Regions from separate parts of the Homo sapiens genome. Here regions 2 and 3 are each linked to region 1. The links are contacts of gene promoters, found by promoter capture Hi-C in blood cells and fetal thymus (Javierre and others, 2016). All regions are on one chromosome and are shown on one strand. The core of a region is centred on a gene start or on the middle of the fragment in contact, and the rest is flanking DNA. Distances in the headings are between cores, read along the strand shown. Region 1 holds the start of NSL1 (NSL1 component of MIS12 kinetochore complex). Region 2 overlaps LINC01740 (long intergenic non-protein coding RNA 1740). Region 3 has its middle 28 kb from the start of LINC01740.

Evidence for each region. The method cuts DNA at HindIII sites, captures the fragments that hold promoters and counts their contacts. A CHiCAGO score of 5 or more calls a contact.
Region 2: a contact is called between a fragment that was not itself captured here and the fragment with the promoter of NSL1 in region 1, in 1 of 17 cell types (fetal thymus). The highest score is 6.7, in fetal thymus.
Region 3: a contact is called between a fragment that was not itself captured here and the fragment with the promoter of NSL1 in region 1, in 2 of 17 cell types (activated CD4 T cells and fetal thymus). The highest score is 5.5, in activated CD4 T cells.

The regions. Positions count from the first base shown.
Region 1 is chr1:212,790,468-212,793,089 of GRCh38, reverse strand. NSL1 (NSL1 component of MIS12 kinetochore complex) reads left to right here and starts at 1,313. Exons shown (of 6, transcript NM_015471.4): 1 at 1,313-1,560. The coding sequence starts at 1,327. TATDN3 (TatD DNase domain containing 3) reads right to left here and starts at 1,196. Exons shown (of 10, transcript NM_001042552.3): 1 at 1,103-1,196. The coding sequence starts at 1,168. RefSeq lists enhancers at 1,108-1,387, 1,862-2,622. The HindIII fragment of the contact is 10,286 bases long and covers 1-1,937 here.
Region 2 is chr1:212,554,958-212,557,579 of GRCh38, reverse strand. It overlaps LINC01740 (long intergenic non-protein coding RNA 1740), which reads right to left. Exons shown (of 3, transcript NR_125985.1): 3 at 1,514-1,737. Among named protein-coding and RNA genes, the nearest start is that of LINC01740, 11 kb to the right of the region's middle. The HindIII fragment of the contact is 1,563 bases long and covers 528-2,090 here.
Region 3 is chr1:212,572,211-212,574,832 of GRCh38, reverse strand. It overlaps a transcript of ATF3 not described here. Among named protein-coding and RNA genes, the nearest start is that of LINC01740, 28 kb to the right of the region's middle. The HindIII fragment of the contact is 1,708 bases long and covers 435-2,142 here.

The sequences.
Region 1 (2,622 bases), core at 64-2,563:
TTCTAGCTCATCAGGCTCCACTTAGCTTTTTGGCAACTGAAATGTGCCAAATTCTAGCTTGTCTGGGGGCCTGCAACCTATCTGTTTCCCTAACCAGCATACACTCACCCCCTTGCTTGGGTGGCTCCTTGTCTTTTCAGCCTTAAGTGTCAGCTCCTGGGAGGATTTCCCCCTGAAATAAAACCCCCCTTAATCCTCTATTATTAGTCTCTAGTTTCCCACGTAATGGGTAAAACAGTTTGTAACTGATTTTACGTGTGTATTATTATTTTAATTGAGACGGGGTCTCACCACATTGCCCAGGCTGGTCTCAAACTCCTGGGCTCAAGCGATCCACCCACTTCGGCCTCTCATAGTGCTAGGATTACAAGTGTGAGCAACCACACTCGGCCATGTATTTTTGTTTGTTTGTTTGCCTCTCTCCCCCATTTGTGAATTTTTTTTTTTTTTTTTTTTTGAGACAGGGTCTCACTGTTACCCAGGCTGGAGTGCAGTGGCTTGATGTCAGCTCACTGCAACCTCCACCTCCTGGGCTCCAGCGATTCTCCCACCTCAGCCTCCCGAGTAGCTGGGACCACAGGCAAACGCCACAATCACCGGCTTTTTTTTTTTTTTTGTAGGGACGAGGTTTCACCATGTTGCCCAGGCTGGTCACGATCTCCTGGACACAGGAGATGCGCAGCGCCCGCCTCGGCCTCCCAAAGTGCTGGGATTACGGGCGTGAGCCCGCGCCCGACCTCTCCCCGATTTGAACGCGTTTCGAGGACCGCTTCCCACAAAGAGTGGCATCTCAGCCAGGAGGTGAGAGCCCCGAGGGGAAAAACAGGCCAGCCAAGGGGAGTGAGGGAACGATTCCAGGAACTCAGAAGAGCAAACAAAAGCCTTGTGGAGATAGCTTACCGCTACTGAATCAGGAAAAAAAAATCGGTATGTCTGAGGTTAAATAGGGAATAGGGAAATGAGGGGCAAGGTCATATGGCCATAAACAAGGGTCTGGGCGGGGGATATGGGGTTTCGTCCCAAGGGAGGAGAGCAAAGATAACACGAGGGGAAAGGACGGGGGCCTCCCTGCTCCCTCTGGTCCCGTATCGCCCTCACATACGCGGTCAAAGTCCGGGGCGGAGAGGTGGCAGTGACAGTCCACCAAGCCTACGCCAGCCGCTCGCATTGCGCCCCGGCGGCTGCCGCTTTAGACCGGCCAGCAGAGCCGGAGCCGGAACGTTTCAGCTGCAGCGTCCTGAGTTTCCAGCCGGATGCATGCTGGTTACACCAGTGTGAACCCGCTTTTCCGCTCCCAGAGTGCCCCGCCCACAGTTCCGACGAAAAATGGCGGGGTCTCCTGAGTTGGTGGTCCTTGACCCTCCATGGGACAAGGAGCTCGCGGCTGGCACAGAGAGCCAGGCCTTGGTCTCCGCCACTCCCCGAGAAGACTTTCGGGTGCGCTGCACCTCGAAGCGGGCTGTGACCGAAATGCTACAACTGTGCGGCCGCTTCGTGCAAAAGCTCGGGGACGCTCTGCCGGAGGAGATTCGGGAGCCCGCTCTGCGAGATGCGCAGTGGGTACGGGACCAGTTAGCCAGTTCTTTACTCATCATCCTCTTACCCAACACCCAGGATCTTAGGATTCAGAAAGATCCCACGCCAGGCCTTGGCAGAATTAACGGTGCCCCAGGCTACTGTAGAACCAGTTCGAGAAACGCTAGAGGAGAAAGAAATAGATGCTAATGTCAGCTGGGTCTTATTAATTACTTAGACCAGCGCTGTCCAGTGAAAATACAAGGCAAGCTAATCTTTATGTAGTTTTAAACTAAAAGTAAGAAATAGGTGAAGTTAATGGAAATAAGACATTTTGTTTAACCCAATAAATCCAAGGTATTTTAACATGTAATAATATCAAATGAATGAGATATTTTACATTCTTTTGTTCGTACTAAGCTTTTCAAATCTGGTGTGCTGCATTTACGGCACATCTTCGAACTAGTTACATTTAAGCGCTCAGTAACTACAAAGTGGCTAGTGGCTCACCTGTTGGACAATGCAGCCGCAGACAATGAGGAATTCTCCTGGAAAGGGTAATTCTGGAAGTCAGCCATTCACCCAAGCAGCATTTGATCTTTCCTTTTGCATGTTTTATTTATTTATTTATTTTATTTTATTTTTTTTTTTTGAGACAGAGTCTCGCTCTGTCGCCCAGGCTGGAGTGCAGTGGCGCGATCTCGGCTCACTGCAAGCTCCGCCTCCTGGGTTCACGCCATTCTCCTGCCTCAGCCTCCTGAGTAGCTGGGACTCCAGGCGCCTGCCACCACGCCCGGCTAATTTTTTTGTGTTTTTAGTAGAGACAGGGTTTCACCGTGTTAGCCAGCATGGTCTCGATCTCCTGACCTCGTGATCCGCCCGCCTTGGGCTCCCAAAGTGCTGGTATTACAGGCGTGAGCCACCTCGCCCGGCCTATTAACCTTTATTTTTACTGTTTGCACTGTGGTCATTCATAACTCACAAATGTGCGGTATTATGAGCTTTTAAATTTTTTCCGCTAATATAAGTAGATTGGTGCCTGTTATAAGGAAGCACACAATCCCTTTATTTCTTGTGTTCCCAAAAAACTACCACCTTCAGGGCTTT
Region 2 (2,622 bases), core at 60-2,559, 240 kb after region 1:
GCAACCACATTTTCCTCAATGTAATGCTTATGGGGGGAGGGTCTTAAATTGATTTGAAAGCAGGTTGTATTAGGATTCTCCAGAGAAACAGTACCAATAGGATATACAGGCATACCTCATTTTATTGTGTCTCACTTTATTGCACTTTGCAGATAATGTGTTATTTACAAATTGGTACCGTTGGTACCGTTTTTTCCAACAGCATGTGCTCACTTTATGTCTGTCAGCATTTTTTTAGCAAGAAAATATGTTTAAATGAAGGTGTGTACTTTTTTTAAAGTCATAATGCTGTTGCACACTTAAGACTACAGTGTAGTGTAAACATAACATATATGCACTGAGAAACCAACAAATTTGTGTGGATCCCTTTACTGTGATATTTACTTTACTGCAGTGGTCTTGAACCAAACCTGCAATATCTCTGAGGCATGCCTGTGTGTGCACATATATGATTTATTATAAGGAATTGACTTATGCAGTGATGGAGGCTGGCAAGTCCCAAGATCTGCAAGGTGAGTAAGCAAGCTTGAGACCTAGGAGAGCTGATGGTGTAGTTCTAGTCCAAGTCCAAAGGCAGGAAAAAGCCCATGTCACAGTTCAAAAGTAGGAAGAATTCACTCACTTTGGGGAGGGTCAAACTTTTCATTCTATTCAGGCCTTTAAATGATTGGATAAAGCCCACCTACATTATAGAAGGCACTCTGCTTTCGTCTGTCAATTTAAATGTTAGTCTCATCCAAAACACCCTTACAAAGATAACCCCAGAATAATGTTTGACCAAAATATCTGGGCACCCCATAATCCAGTCAAGTTTGACACAGAATTAACCGTCACACTGACCTATCTGATTTCTAAAGATCTTGGCCTTAAAATTGTGACTTTGGTCTCTAAGGCAATTATGAGGGTGAGTTCTTTGTAAATGGTTTCTCGGATGTATTTGCTTCTATTGAAACCTTAGTAGAGAGGACCCGTCATTTAATTACCTCTTCCTATGTTCTTGATAGTCTTTATTTTTAAAATCTAGTTCAGTTGAATATAATAATTTCTTTCACCTTTTTTAGAAGCTGAGCTACAGTTATGTTTTAGGAAGCTAGTTGATCTATCCAGTAATCTATCAAGTAATGTTGATCTGTCAAGCAAGTTAATCTATCAAGTAATGAAGCTAGCTGGTATTAAATAATTCTTTGTTTTTAACTATTAAATACAGGGCTTTGGGTATGTAATATAAGCAGCATTATGGTAATATTCTGGAAGTTTCAATTATTGCAATGATTGAGAGCATTAGAGTGTTATTTTCTGTTTGAGATATTTTTTAAGATAGTGTTGCTTCAGGAACATTGTAGTCATAATATTTTGCAGTCTAAATCCTTATTTTAAAAAATCTCATAACTTTTTATATCCTATTTAAAAGTATTGATATTGATATATTGGATTGGATTATTAGCTTTATAAATAAATACAATCACTGGACCTCTGTCAGTCCCAAAAACAAAACTTGTTTTGCACCTAAATTGTTTATTTTATTTTATTTTATTTTTAGCTGAGTAGTTAAGATTTCAGGCCTTTTTAAAAAGTCATGTGTTTAGGTATAATTTACATGCAGTAAAATTCACCCTTTTAGGTATAAAGTTCTGGAATTTTGACAAACATAGTCATGTAATCATTACCACAATCAAGACAAAACATTTCCATCACCCCAGGAAGTTCCCTTGTGCTCCTTTGCAGTCAATCCCATTCCTGAAAATAAAATTTTAAATAAAATTAATAAAACTTTCTAAAAACATGTCTGATTCATGCCACTGTCTGTCACCATCATAAATGGACTTACTTGGTCTCAATATGGAATTCACAAGTTATCACATCAGTCGAATAATTATGTTCTTGCTGATTTAGTCAAAGTGAGATCATTCAGTGCTCAATGGATGGCTGCATACTAACATTTAAGACTTGAGAGGATACAGCACAGCAGGGGACTATCATGATGACTGTTAGATAGGATTTGGTATTTAGGATAACACCAAAAAATGAAGCGTATTCCTTAACAGGAGCCCTGAGGGACCAAATTGATCCAAATCAAACAAGTCAAAGCTTAGGTAAGTAATATAGGCAGCTTAACAGTATTTGAGTCCATTTGGCCATAATCCTTATTCAAAGTGTGATGGAAATTAAGGACCACAGCTTGCTATAGAATGATCTGATTTAAATAAGTATCCAATTTTGTCATTAACTTGATAACACAAGCCTTAGTAACCTGGAGACCCACTAGAAGAACATAGATTAGAAAACCCTGGAAAAGCCAAGCTTGCCATCCACCACTCAGGATTCCTGCAAACCAACTGTTAGCTGCTGCCATGGACACAGCATGTGTTCCTTTCCCTTAAGAAATTTCCTTCATGTATTTGATGGCAGTGTCTAAAGAAACAGCAGTTTCACCTTTGTTTTTAGTTAAGCTTCCTCTAGTAACAAAATTAGGGGACAGACAGGCACAATATTCAGTTTTGTCAATACTATATACAAGCCTCCAATTTGGGCGAAAAGAAGCTCTAAGTCCACATGATGTTCCAGTAAATGTTTTTTCTTAAAACATATGCTGTCTGGGCGCAGTGGCTCATGCCTGTAATC
Region 3 (2,622 bases), core at 39-2,538, 220 kb after region 1:
AAAAGCCCATAAATAACCTATATACACAAGGAAGCTCTGTACATGACTGAAATAGCCTCACAAAGCAATGGGAGGAACTCATGAGACTGGGACAACTGGTTATCCATATGGGAGTAAGTTAAATTAGATTCTCACTCACATCAGCCATAAAGATTAAAGACACAGATGTGAAAGGCAAAACTTTGCAACCTTGAGAAAAAACAATATATAGGAAGATACACTCATTATCATCAAGTGCAGAAATATTTTATATAAGATACAAACATACAAACAATAAAATAAGAGGGATATATTTGATTACATTAAGAGAAAAAAACTATGTGTTAAAAAAGACAACACAAACAAAATGAAAAGATATTATAGAACAGGAGAAAGCATTTGTGATGAATATACCAAAATGAGAGATATTTTAAGAAACAAAAATTATATAAGCTTGATTATTTGATCACAGTGCAGTATAACTAGCTATTAATAATAGAAATTAAAACAAAAAATCATTAAATATAAGGACAGAAAATTAAAACAGAAATTAAAGTATAAGAACATAGCAGTTAGAAGATAATTAAAATAAGAGCACAATATATCAAAAGGTATGAAATATTGTACTAAGAAAATATGAAAATATGAAAGTTGTACTAAAAGTTGAAGTTACAATCTTATTTGTTTTTATTTTCAAGGAAAGGAAAAATAAAAGCATTCAACCCAAGGGTTTATAAAAACAACAATGACAACAAAATCCCTAAGAAATCAGTAGACAGAAAAGACTAAAGGCAAAACCAAAACTAACTGAATTAGGATATAGGAAAACTTACGGAATTAATTCAAGAGCACTTTTTTTAAAAAGTAATAAAGTAGACAAATATTAGAGAAACTAAAGAAGAAAAAAAAACCCTATGAATAATAAAATTAGAAATAAAAAGGGGAGGTTCAGCACCAGATAAGGAGGAGATATTTTAAATATAAGACAATACTTTGCAAAATTATAAATTATAAATCTGAAAACCTAGATGAAATGAATAGTCTGAAAATATATACATTATCAAAATTAGAAGTATAAAACCTACATATGCCAATCACGGCTGAAGAACTTAGAAAAAAAGGAAAGATTTCCCTCCAGGAAAAAAAATGTGTCTAGGCCTAGAAAACTTTACAGGAAAAAAATCTTTCAATTCTTAAGGAATACGTAATCACTATGTTTCAGTAATTTCAAACATTGACAAATATGGAAAATCTATCTAATTTACTTAACAGAGATGACCCTGATATAAAACCCTGAAAAAGACAGCTCAAAAAAAGAAGATAATAAACCTATCTAAATTATGAACATAGAAAAGAAAATCCAAATTCAGATAACAGTATCAAAATAACCCAAGGAGGGTTTAATCTAAAATAAAAAGATTTTATGTTTTAAGATCTTTAAAATCCAATAGTATAATATATTACATCCACAGGCTAAAAAAGAAAATCCAAATAAGATTCTCAATTAATGCAGGAAATACATTAGAATTCAACAGCTGGTCCCTATTAAAAAATAATTACAAATTTAAGAACTTTTATTAACATAACAAAAAGTGTTTATTTCAAACAGTCAAAGTCATCTTTAAGGATGAAATACTAAGGCAATATTATTAAAATCAGGACCAAAACAAAGATATAGTTTGTGGCCATTTTTACTAAATTTTGACCTGAAAGTTCTAACCAATGAAATAGGGCACTTATAAAAATAAGATGCACAAACACTGGAAGGGAGAAAATAGATTTGCAATTACTTGTACATGATATAATTACATTCCCGGAAATTCAAAAGAACAATTCAACTAAGAATTATTAGAATCGATATGAGAGCCCAAGAAAACTGCTAAATATAAAAAAGACACAAAAGCCAAGTACCTTTTGTATATACAAATTGTCTGTATAAAAATTTGTATGTAGAAATTTGCTACATTGCTTTTCTATATAGAACTATTATCCAATTAGAAAATACAACTTTTAGAAAAGATAAAATGACAACAGCAAATATCAACAATGATGACATTGGAAACTTCTATGGAATGCCTTGGAAAAGCTATAATGAGAATGCGAAGGACCCGTATGAAAAAATTATAAAATGCTATTGGGAAATGCAGGTTTGAATACTAAGCTTTATGGCAACGAAGTCAGTGCTTTGCAAATTAATTTGAATGGTCAATATAATTTCAATAAAAATCTCAATAGTATTCTTTTCAGAATTTCACAAAATCATTCTAATGTTCAACCAAAATAATAATTAAGTATGAACAGCAAATAAAATGTTTTTTGTTTTGTTTGGTTTTTGAGACTGAATTTCACTCTTGTTGCTCAGGCTGTAGCTCAATGGTGCAATCTCAGCTCACTGCAACCTCCGCCTCCCGGGTTCAAGCCATCCTTCTCTGCCTCAGCCTCCTGAGTAGCTGGGATTACAGGCATGCGCCACTATGCCCAGCTAATTTTATATTTTTAGTAGAGATGGGGGTTTCTCCATCTTGGTCAGGCTGGTCTCGAACCCCCTACCTCAGGGGATCCGCCCGCCTCTGCTTCCCAAAGTGCTGAGATTACAGACGTGAACCACCACGCCCGGCAACAAAGAAAATGTTGAACATGAAA